Linked DNA regions of Homo sapiens: regions 2, 3 and 4 are each linked to region 1. Evidence: promoter capture Hi-C in 16 types of primary human blood cells and fetal thymus (Javierre and others, 2016). All regions are on one chromosome and are shown on one strand. Each heading gives the region's core, a stretch centred on a gene start or on the middle of the fragment in contact. The rest is flanking DNA. Distances are from core to core; before and after follow the strand shown.

Region 1 (2,864 bases), core at 91-2,590:
ACATGTGGAATGATCAAATCAGAGTAATTAGCGTACCCATTATCTCAAATTTTTATCAGTTCTTTGTGGTGAGAACATTTAATAGAAAGTAAATGTATTCTATTGGAAGCTCAAGTTACTGGTTTCCAGCTGTTACAGCTGAAAGAAAGAGGGAGGAAGGCAGGGAGTAATGGGGAAAAGGAGGGAGGGGAAAGAAAACAGAAAAGGGGGAGCGGGAACATGCAATATTCTTTCAGAGTTAAGAAACTTAATCTGACAGGTTTATAGAATTTCGTTGGAACCTAGAGCAAAATCACAATGGCTGAAGCGTCAATCAGGCCTATAAAAACATCTGTGTTTAGTTTAAATGACTAAGGGTGAAATACATCAGCTTATGGAAAATGGGGAGGGCTCCCAGTATTTGGCCAGCGTTCTAGGTGATGGATGTTGATGAGCAATTCCCTTCAACAACTGATTTACTGCCAACGGACAAAATGCTGGAAGCACATCCAAAAACTTATCTGCAATTAAAATTACAAGCAAGTGGTCACTCTGTTCACCTCCTTTACCAGAGAGGTGACCCTGCTCCCGGCAACTACCTCCACCCAAGGGCCACAGAAGAACTCCTCCTTCCTCTAACCCTCTTTCCTTGGCCTCAAACCTCACGGTAAAACCTGCCTTGCTCTGTCTCCCAATCGCTTTTGTAAAGGAAGCTGGGTGTAGAGCTCTTCTTTCTCCCTCCCTTCCTTTTTTCTTTCCTTCCTTCCTTTCTTCCTTCCTTCTTCCATGCCTTTCTGTCTTTCCAAATTCATTGCTTTGTAAGAAACATTCTCAGATCACCTCCACTCCACTAGAAATCCAACGCAGGCGAGTCGGAGTCAAGCACAGGCAGTGGGCGGGTGGCCTCAGCCGGCACCATCTGGCACCTGCGATTCATCGCCACTTTCCATTCGCCCAGAGGTCAGGGGGGCAGCAGGCAAAGGACACGCAGAGCTCGTGTGTCCCAGTTCCTCTGAAACTTTCAGCTGACCGCACCCTCCCCCGACAAACTCTTTAATCATCCATCAAGCTAGAAGAGTACAGTGACCTCTGCCTGGCCTTTGGAGTTTGCAAAAGAAGCAAGCAATAAAAAGCAAGACCAGGTTCGCCCCTTTGCTTCCTCCACCTCCCAAGAGCAGCGCGCAGCGCGGCGGTGCGGCCGGAAGGGGCCGCTGTTTGCTCAGCGCAGCCACCCCGCCGCTGCAGCCGCCGCGGCCCGCACCTCCCACGGCCGGGCTGGTCCAGCCCCGCCAAGTTCCAACAGCCCCCCCTCGAGCGAGCGCCGGGAACGAGCACCACCAGGGCTGGAGCGGACGGCTTTAGAAGAGCCTAGCTGCTGCGCGCGTCGGAGAGGCTCCTGGGAAACTCCCACGGCCCAGGGACTTTCGAAAGCAGAGCGAGGAGCCCTCGCACGCGCTAGTCTGCGAGTGAGCGCTCAGCCCGGCACCTGTTCCTCCAGCGCCGCCGCCTTCCCACCCCTCGGACCCGCGCCGCTCGCGGCGCCCGCCCGTTCCTGCGATGAATCCGGCCCTAGGCAACCAGACGGACGTGGCGGGCCTGTTCCTGGCCAACAGCAGCGAGGCGCTGGAGCGAGCCGTGCGCTGCTGCACCCAGGCGTCCGTGGTGACCGACGACGGCTTCGCGGAGGGAGGCCCGGACGAGCGTAGCCTGTACATAATGCGCGTGGTGCAGATCGCGGTCATGTGCGTGCTCTCACTCACCGTGGTCTTCGGCATCTTCTTCCTCGGCTGCAATCTGCTCATCAAGTCCGAGGGCATGATCAACTTCCTCGTGAAGGACCGGAGGCCGTCTAAGGAGGTGGAGGCGGTGGTCGTGGGGCCCTACTGACCCGCCCTCTGCCCCCGCGGCAACCGCTCCCACGCCTGCCCACTTTGCTAGCCCGGCTGTGCCCCTCACTATCAGAGACTGGGCGAAGCAAACCTGTCGGAGTCAATTATTTCTCTCGACTTCGGCCTTTCGGAAAGAAGCGACCGGTTTCTCCCTCGCCCTCTGAAAGTCCTCATGCCTGGCAGTCGGAGGAGAGCGCCCAGACTCTGAACTCAGCAGAAAGTGGCAAGAAGAGGGCGATTAGGGCGCAGAACTTTGGAAGCTGCTACTTACTTGGAATGCGGGGAGACCGACGGTGCGAAGGCCCTTCTCCACCCGCAGGTGGGCCAAGCTCTGGGGGCAGGTGGAGAGGGCGGGCAGGGGAGAGACCCAGCGGCACTGATCGCCTTGTGACCGGAAGAGTGACCTGTTAAAAGCCACGCAGCAGACTCATGGGGTCTCACAAATCCGTGTCCGGGTGCGCTCCCACTCTTCTCCTGCTCCCCCCCTGCCCTGGAGGGGAGGGGCGATAAATACCTTTGATTGTAACGTGCCGTTTTAAGAGGTTTTGTGTTTGTTTGCTTGAATACAAATGTTTGATAAGTCTTTTTCTGCCCCAGTGGCCTGTTTGCCTGCCTGAGGAGTTACAGTTTTGTCATTGTGGGAGAAGGGGTGGGGGGAGGGGGAGCCTGCGAATTTGAACGGGGTGAGTTGTTTCTTTTAGTGCATTTCCCACTGGGTCTTTTGGGAGGCGTCTAGCGTTCCTGCTGGCCCTGGGACAAAGACCCAGAATAGAACTCGTAGCTCGTGACTGCACGGTTTACGCCACAAAAGTGCTCTTGACATCCGTGACACCGTTTTGACTTTTTGTTTTTTTCTTATTTAACATTTCCTTAATAAATGCAACATTTAAGCGTTTTGTTCCTGGCCTCCTGGTGGTCATTCTGCGCTCCCCAGCAGGGGGGAACGGGGCGGCGGTGAGGAGTCTGGCTCCCGGCCAGGGCAATTAACCCTGGAGA
Region 2 (3,043 bases), core at 112-2,611, 570 kb after region 1:
CAAAAATTAGAGCAAAAAAAAAAAACTGCAAACAAATCAATAGAGAAAAACACTGAGACCAAAACCTGGTTCTTTTTTAAAAAAAACCTTTATTTTAGGCTCAGGGGTACATGTGCAGGTTTGTTATATAGGTAAATTATATGTCGTGTGAGGTTGGTGTACAGATTATTTCACCATCCAAGTAATAAGCACAGTACCCAATAGTTAGTTTTTTTATCTTCAGCTTCCTCCCTCCCTCCACCCTCTAGTAGGCCCCAGTGTATGTTGTTCCTTTACCTCCCAAAAGTGGAAGCTAAACATTCAGTACATATGGACACAAAGGAAAAAAATACTGCATCCTCCCACATGCAGTATTGGTTTTCCATACCTAAGTTAGTTCACTTAGGATAATGGCCTATAGCTCCATACATGTTGCTGCAAAGGACATGATCTTGTTTTTTTTTATGGCTACATAGTATTCCATGGTGTATATGTACCACATTTTCTTTATCCAGTCTATCATTGATGGGCATTTAGGTTGATTCCACGTCTTTGCTATTGTGAATAGTGCTGTAAGGAACATATGCATGCATGTGTCTTTATGGTAGAACAATTTATTTTCCTTTGGGTATAAATCCAATAATGGGATTGCTGAGCCAAATGGTAATTCTGCTTTGAGTTCTTTGTGAAATCACCAAACTGCTTTCCATAATGGCTGAACTAATTTACATTCCCACCTGCAGTGTATAAGCATACCCTTTTCTGTGCAACCTCACAAGCATCTGCTATATTTTGACTTTATTATGATAGCCATTCTGACTGGTATAAGATGGTATGTGATTGTGGTTTCAATTTGCATTTCTCTAATAATTAGTGATGTTGAGCATTTTTTTACATACTTATTGGCTACGTATGTCTTTTGAAAAATGTCTGTTCATGTCCTTTGCCCACTTTTTAATGGGGTTGCTTTTTTTTGCTTATTAAGTTCCTTATAGATGCTAAACATTAGACCTTGGTCAGCTGCATAGGATGCAAATATTTTCTCCCGTTCTGTAGGTTGTCTGTTTACTTTGTTGATAGTTTCTTTTGCTGTGCAGAGGCTCTTTAGTTTACTTAGATCCCGTTTGTCAATATTTGCTGTTGTTGCAGATGGGCACAGTGGCTCATGCCTGTAATCCCAGCACTTTGGGAGGCTGAGGTGGGTGGGTCACAAGGTCAGGAGTTCAAGACCAGTCTGGCCAACACAGTGAAACCCAGTCTCTACTAAAAATACAAAAAATTAGCCGGGTTTGGTGGTATGTGCCTGTAATCCTAGCTACTCCAGAGGCTGAGGCAGCAGAATTGTGTGAACCTGGAAGGTGGAGGTTGCAGTGAGCCAAGATCGTGCCATTGCACTTCAGCCCAGGTGACAGTCTGAGACTCCATCTCAAAAAAAAAAAAAAAAAAACTATTGTTGCAATTGCTTTTGGCATCTCTGTCATGAAATCGTCACCAGATCCTATGTCCAGAATGGTATTTCCTAGGTTAACTTCCAGGGTTTGTATAGTTTTAGGTTTTAAATTTAGGTCTTTAATCCACCTTGAGTTGATTTTTGTATATGATGTAAGGAAGGGGTCCCATTTCAAACTTTTGCATATGGCTAGCCAGTTATCCCAGCAGCATTTATTGAATGGGTAGTCCTTTCCCCATTGTTTGTTTTTGTTGACTTTGTTGAAGATTAGATGGTTGTAGGAGTGTGGCCTTATGTCTGGGCTCTCTATTCTGTTTCATTGGTCTATATGTCTGTTTTTTGAGCAGTACCATATGGTACTGTTTTGGTTACTGCAGCCTTGTATACTTTGAAGTCAGGCAATGTGATGTCTCTGGCTTTATTTTATTTTATTTTTTTTTTTTTTTGCTTAGAATTGCTTTGGCTATTTGAACTCTTTTTTTTTGTTAATGTGAATTTTAAAATAGTTTTTTTTTTCTAATTCTGTGAAGAATGTCATTGGTAGTTTGATAGGAATAGCACTGAATATTTAAAATTCTTTGGGCAGTATGTCCATTTTAACAATTTTGATTCTTTCTATCCATGAACATGGAATGTTTTTTCCTTTGTTTGTATCATCTCTAATTTCATTGAGCAGTGTTTTGAAATTCTTGTTGTAAAGATTTTTCACCTCCCTGGTTAGCTGTATTCCTAGCTATTTTATTCTTTTTGTGGCTATTGTGAAAAAGATCAACAAAATTGAAAAGACTGTATGTCAGCAAATTCAAGGTTTATTTTTTAAAAAGGAAAGAAAATTGATAAGCCTCTAGCCAGGCTACTTTAAGAGAGAAAGAGATGACACAAATGACTAGTATTAGAAATGATTAAAAGGAACACCACTACATATCCCATTGATATTAAAAAAAAAACAAAAAAAGAATATTAGGAATAATTCTATGCTCACAAATTTGATAAACTAGATAAAATGGATTAATTCCTTGAAAAACACAATCTGTATGTAATCTTTACATAAGGAGAAATAAACAATCTGAATAGGTTTATACCTATTAAATAAATTAAATAAATAATTAATAACCTACTAAAATGGAAGGCACTAGGCCCAGGTGGGCTCACTTATGAATTCTGCCAAACACTTAAAAAAGAAATTATACCAATTTTCTACAATCTCTTCCATAAGATAGAAATAGAGGGAATACTCCCTAATTCCTAAGTTTAGCATTAACCCAATACCAAAACCAGACAACTATTATACAAGAAAACTAGAAACCAATATATTCTGCAAATATAAAAACAAAATATTCAACAAAATATTAGCAAATTGAATCAAAAAAAGTAAAAAAAAATTGCACATCACTATCAAGTGGGATTTATCTCAGGTATGTGAGAAGACTGGTTCAACATTTGAAAATCAATTAATGTAATCCAATCAACAGGCTAAAGAAGAAAAATCACATGATTATATCAATAGACACAGAAAAAAGCATTTAACGTACTCTAACACCCATTACTGATTTAAAACTTTCAGCATATTAGGTATAGAGGGAATCTTCCTCTACTTCATAAAGAACACCTATA
Region 3 (2,821 bases), core at 296-2,795, 530 kb after region 1:
CCCAAATTACTTTTCAAACCCCTCTCCTTTCCATGACGTCCCTCTTGAAAAGGAATTGTGTGCTTTTCCAAGAGCATGCAACATATATTTGTTTGTATCTAATCAAGTCATTTATCTTCACTTAGTTTTATAACTCCTGTAGGTGCAGTCAACATATCTTATAAACCTACTCACAGTGAAAGCAGAAGAATGCCTATGCAGTCCTAGGATTTGGCACAGGCAATCTAAGCTTTAAATTATGGTATTGGTATCCCAATTAAAGCCAAGATGTGCTTCCAAACACCCTTGGACAAGTAAGCAAATACATGTAATGTCACCTCCTTTCTTAGCTAATTCTTATCCTTTATTTATGTCACTTACTCAGTATGTTTTCTACTTTTTCTTCTTTTTTTAATTGCTACATAAACCATCAGAAAAGACCATGCACAGCCAACCTGCTGCCCAAGCGAAATCTCTGTTTAATATTTCAGTGTTTCCAAAAATGATGTGCCACTGGCTTGGCTCTGCCTGTAATATTGTTTTCAATTTCCATCTGCCTTGGGCATCTTCCTCCTGCCACGTATCCATATGAGCCTAACTGCATCACATGCAGTGCTGGATGCTAGAAATGCCCTGATACCAAAACGTGATACAAGGATAATCTGCTTTTTCCCTTATAATTAAATGAGAAAACTGTGGGTATACTGTCTCCTACTTGGCCCCATCACAAATGCATCCAACAGATGCCACCACACATGACCCAAGTTAAGTACAAAGGAATGATGTAAATATGCCCCTTAAAAAAATTTCACCGAGGACTGAAACCCCATGAGGTTGGTTACCTTGTGAAGGAAAGCAGGTGTTCAGGTAAAAGGAAGGGCATAGCAATATCCAAGTTAACCAGCATTTTGTGGCCTCTGTACAAAGCCAAGTTACACACTTGCCTCATGCTTTAACACACCTGTCATCTCCTATTGTGAGCTATCCAGGCTCTGAGTTGGTGACAAATTAGGATTAAACCCACCGACAACTATTCACTCCATGCCCATCAGCGTGTGCTCTGAAAAGCCCTCAGACCCCTTCAGACTCTTTAGCAGCAGCCATTGTTTCCTTCGGTAACTGCTACCTTCCAGCAAACAGCATTCAGAAAGACAGCCCATCTGAGAACACATGCTTTCATCTCTGCACTCCCTTGCTGCTAACAAGCTTCCCTATAATAATCATATAAAATCTAACTATGTACATTGGAAAAAAAGGCATTTTGTTAAAACCAAACCAAGCAGTGCAGATGAGGTCTGCAGCATAAATTAGAGCCACGAGGATACTGTGGATAAATTACTGATGATTCTGGTTACAAAGTGTAATCGTTTGGCTTAAGAGGATTAAGCACAACAAGAAATCTTGAATTTTACAACTTTACCCCCAAATTCAGTCCAAGGTCAGGCTTTTGGTCTTGATTTTACTGATTTATCTTTAATATTATCATCTAACCTCTCTAAAATTATATTTTTTCCTAGAGTTGATCCATATACCAAATAATCATTTAATACTGCATTATTCTCCAGACATTTTATGCTTAGGCTTGGCATGAGATACTGAAAAATGGTCAGAAGATATTGGGCAGCTGCTAACAATTTTTTGATATGTACGTGTTCCCTCTAAAAGAAAGCCTCAAATTTTCAAGTGTGAGTTCACATTTTCAGGCAATTTATGTGGCCTTTAATATCTTGAGTAACAATGTAATTATATAATAATTAGCCAGACCCACCTCTCCTCATAAATTTTGTCTGAATCTATTTTGGGTTGCTATAAAGCAATATCTGTGGTTAGGTAATTTACAAGGAAAAGAGGTATACTTGGGCTCTGCAGGCTGTACAAGGAGTGTACCACTGGCATCTGCTTCTGGGAGGGCCTCAGGAAGCTTCCAATCATAGCAGAAGGCGAAGGGGGAGCAGGCCATCACATGGCAAGAGAGGGAGTGAGGAAGGGAAGGTGTAACAGGCTTTTTTAAACAACCAGCTCTCACCTGAATTAATAAAGCAATAACTCACTCATTAATCCAAGGAGGGCACCAAGCCATTCATAAAGGATCCTCCACCATGACCCAAATACCTCCCACCAGGCCCCACCTCCAAAATTGGGATCACATTTCAACACAAGATTTGCAGGGAACAAATATCTAAAATATATCAAAAGTAAATCTTATTTCTCTAAAAATTTTCTGTCATCTGCTGTGGGTTCCCATGTGGTTCCCCACTTCCTGTCCCCTACTAAATAATCCTAAAGAAAGAAAAAAGAAAGAAGCAAGTCATAACTGTCTTCTACATTTTGGTGCTGTATGGCATTTCCATTTCTCTTTAGTTCCCATTCCCTGCCTTTCTTCAGCCTTTAGCATTTATGTTAATGCCCATCTGGTTTATGGACCTCACAATATGTATTTCCTCTAGGCTTTGATGGCCTCCTTCACAAACCAGCCACAAACACCTCTGAACATCCTCATCATAAAGCCCATCATGAAGCCTATAAAGGCCCACAAGACTGTAAGTTCCATGAGAGCAGAAGCTGTATCTTACTCATTTTTGTACTGCCCACTGCATCTGGCAAAATGACCATCACATAATACACCACTAAGTTTCAAAAAATATTTTTGACTTGAAGGTAATATATCTGAGATCCTTACCTTAGCATTCTCTCCTTCCTGATCACAATCTGGCCATTTGTCTTTCTTCTCCCCTCCAATCACATCAGCACTTGGTTCTTATAAAAACTTTTTTTCTTCATCTTTTTTTTTTTTTTTGGAGACAGAGTCTCACTTTGTCACCCAGGATGGAATGCAGTGGCA
Region 4 (2,945 bases), core at 399-2,898, 550 kb after region 1:
GGTTTCACCATCTTGGCCAGGCTGGTCTTGAACTCCTGACCTTGTGATCCACCCTCCTCGGCCTCCCAAAGTGCTGGGATTACAGGTTTGAGCGACCACACCTGGCCTCAAAATGGCCCTTCTTACCAAGACCATATTCATCAAGCAGTTTTTTAGAAAACTGGTTAGAGAATAAGTACATGCACAAAGAGTTTATATTCTTTTCTCTTACAACATGACCTTATCTTCACATCGTGGAGACAAATGTGTCTATACTCTTACACACTCACCTTTCATTGGCCGCAGTATCTGTGTGCCTATGATTATGCTCATATCTCCCATCCTATCCTGAAAAACAAAAGGAAAAAAGAAAAACAATCAAGTAAATAGAGTGGATTCACTTGGAAATCCCCATCTCTTCTTCACTCTGAACACTTTACAATAATAGCTTAAATTTTTTAAATGTCTTTATAAGACACAGCTGTAATAAAAAATGTACAAACATCTTTGTGGTTCAGATATGGCACACCAACATGGCACATGTGTACATATGTTACAAACCTGCACGTTCTGCACATGTACCCTAAAACTTAAAATATAATAATAATAAAATTTAAAAAAAATACATAATAATAAAAAGTAGGTTGTAGCTCTAAGCATCCTATGCTCCAAGACAAAAAACAAGTGTTGGTCACTGGAAAGTCAGCTGCTGCAAGAGAGTAAGGACAAAAGCACCCCATGTACATAGGAGCCTACATTCAGGTTCAATTTTGAAAAATATGAGCTGGAACAAACCTATCTCTCTCTGTGAACAGAGGCTAAAATAAAAGGCTGTTGGGCTTGGATAACAAGAAAGAACAAAGGCTTCCAACATTGGATATGCAATATCCCCAAGCCAATATAAGACATCATTCTGAACTGGGAACTCTCAGAATCCAAAGCAAAGCAACTGCCAAATCACTAAGGATTACATCAGGAGAGAGACGAAAATCTCTTACTTAAGATGAGCTTACAAGTCAAAATTTAAAGTCTTACAAAGACAGCTAATCCATTAAATGAAACTCAACAATAAGAAGAGCTGATTTCTAAGGAGATGCAAACGATAAAGAAATGTAAAAGGTTTTTAAAATAAGCACTTTAATATCCTCAAGCTGATAAAAGAAGGAAAATTTCTTATTTATCAAAACAGGGGATTATGGAACAAATATAGGTACATTTGAAACAAAACAGGTTGGTATGTTAAAAAGTCAATTATAAATGCTAGAAATTACATATATATTTCTAGCATTTGTTTATATATATTATATATCTAGCATTCATTTATATATCTAGCATTCATTTATATATTATATATATATAATTTCTAGCATTTAATTGTATATATAATACATCAAGGAAAGAATTCAGATGACAAGATAAACTTTAGGCTGAATCCAGTTAAAGAATTAGTTATTGAACCACTGCTCAGTAATTCATTCTTAAATCTTGGTTCTCCCCAATGTTTCCTCCTTGGACTCCTGGCCTTCTCATTTTACATGCTCTTATCAATCACTTCTTCTTCAAAAGTCATTAAAGTTCTATATATATCATGTAATATGTAATATGTAACATATTACATATATGTAATATGTTACATATATGTACTATGTGATGCTACATAAATGTAGTAATATATTACATATATGTAATATGTGATGTTACATATATTCAATATGCGGTGTGTTGCATATAGGTAATATATGACATGCAACATATATGTTACATGTTGCATATATATGTGTGACATGTTACGTATATGTGATATGTTGCATGCATGTGATATGCTGCATATATGTGATGTGTGATATGTCACATATATGTAATATGTGATATGTGATATATTACATATATGTAATATGTGATATGTAATATGTTACATATGTGTGATATGCGATATGTAATATGTTACATATATGTAGTGTGTGATATGTAATATGTTACATGTATGTGATATGTAATGTGTAATATATTACATGTATGTGATATATGTGTGATACATATGTAATATATTATAAAATATATTATATATAATATATGATACATTATATGTATTATATAATATATAAAATATATATTATAGCATATATTTTATATATACTATAGTATATATACTATATAATACATATATATTATATATGTAACATATTGCATATTATATTACATAATATATATGTAATATAGTATATAATATATAATTATATGATAATATAATATAGTGTATAATATACTATATTATATAATTACATAATATAGTATATTATATACTATAATAATATAGTGTATATTATATATTACATATATTATATGTAATATATATGTAACATGTAATATATTGCATATATAATATATAATATGTTACATAAATTATATAATATATTACATATATAATAGTATATATTAAATACATATTATATATTTAGTATATAACATATAATATATAATATATTAAATATGTATTATATAATATATTAAATATATATTATATTGTATTATATATTATATAATTGTATATTATATATTATATAATTGTATATTATATATATTATATAATTGTATAATATATATAATATATTATATAATATTATATATTATATAATTATATATTATATATATAATTTATATGTAATCTATAATATATATTATACATAATATATCATGTATAATTATATATATCATACATCATATATATATTATGTATAATATATAAATGTATCAGATAACATAACCAGTTGTCTCATGAACACATATATCTAGATGGACTTAGGTATCTCAAACTCAACACATTGCAAACTGCTCATTAACTTCTTTCTACCCCATAGTCTATTTTGCTGTATATTCCCTATCTCAGTAATTGACTCTTTGTCACTATTGTTTCCTTATCCAAGTCAAGAGCCTGAGAGTCATCCTTGACTCCCTTCTCTCTACCA

The links. The method cuts DNA at HindIII sites, captures the fragments that hold promoters and counts their contacts. A CHiCAGO score of 5 or more calls a contact.
Region 2: a contact is called between a fragment that was not itself captured here and the fragment with the promoter of RPRM in region 1, in 3 of 17 cell types (M2 macrophages, endothelial precursors and M1 macrophages). The highest score is 6.6, in M2 macrophages.
Region 3: a contact is called between a fragment that was not itself captured here and the fragment with the promoter of RPRM in region 1, in 2 of 17 cell types (M2 macrophages and M1 macrophages). The highest score is 6.2, in M2 macrophages.
Region 4: a fragment that was not itself captured here is called in contact with the fragment with the promoter of RPRM in region 1 in 1 of 17 cell types (M2 macrophages); the score reaches 5.6 in M2 macrophages.

Annotation. Positions count from the first base shown.
Region 1 is chr2:153,477,238-153,480,101 of GRCh38, reverse strand. RPRM (reprimo, TP53 dependent G2 arrest mediator homolog) reads left to right here and starts at 1,340. Exons shown (of 1, transcript NM_019845.3): 1 at 1,340-2,764. The coding sequence starts at 1,537. The coding sequence ends at 1,866. It also overlaps a transcript of GALNT13 not described here. RefSeq lists a silencer at 1,106-1,305 and enhancers at 1,662-2,165, 2,166-2,669, 2,670-2,864. The HindIII fragment of the contact is 6,762 bases long and covers 1-2,864 here.
Region 2 is chr2:152,910,346-152,913,388 of GRCh38, reverse strand. No RefSeq gene overlaps it. Among named protein-coding and RNA genes, the nearest start is that of ARL6IP6, 190 kb to the right of the region's middle. The HindIII fragment of the contact is 3,456 bases long and covers 1-3,043 here.
Region 3 is chr2:152,945,484-152,948,304 of GRCh38, reverse strand. No RefSeq gene overlaps it. Among named protein-coding and RNA genes, the nearest start is that of ARL6IP6, 230 kb to the right of the region's middle. The HindIII fragment of the contact is 715 bases long and covers 1,188-1,902 here.
Region 4 is chr2:152,928,691-152,931,635 of GRCh38, reverse strand. No RefSeq gene overlaps it. Among named protein-coding and RNA genes, the nearest start is that of ARL6IP6, 210 kb to the right of the region's middle. The HindIII fragment of the contact is 4,907 bases long and covers 1-2,945 here.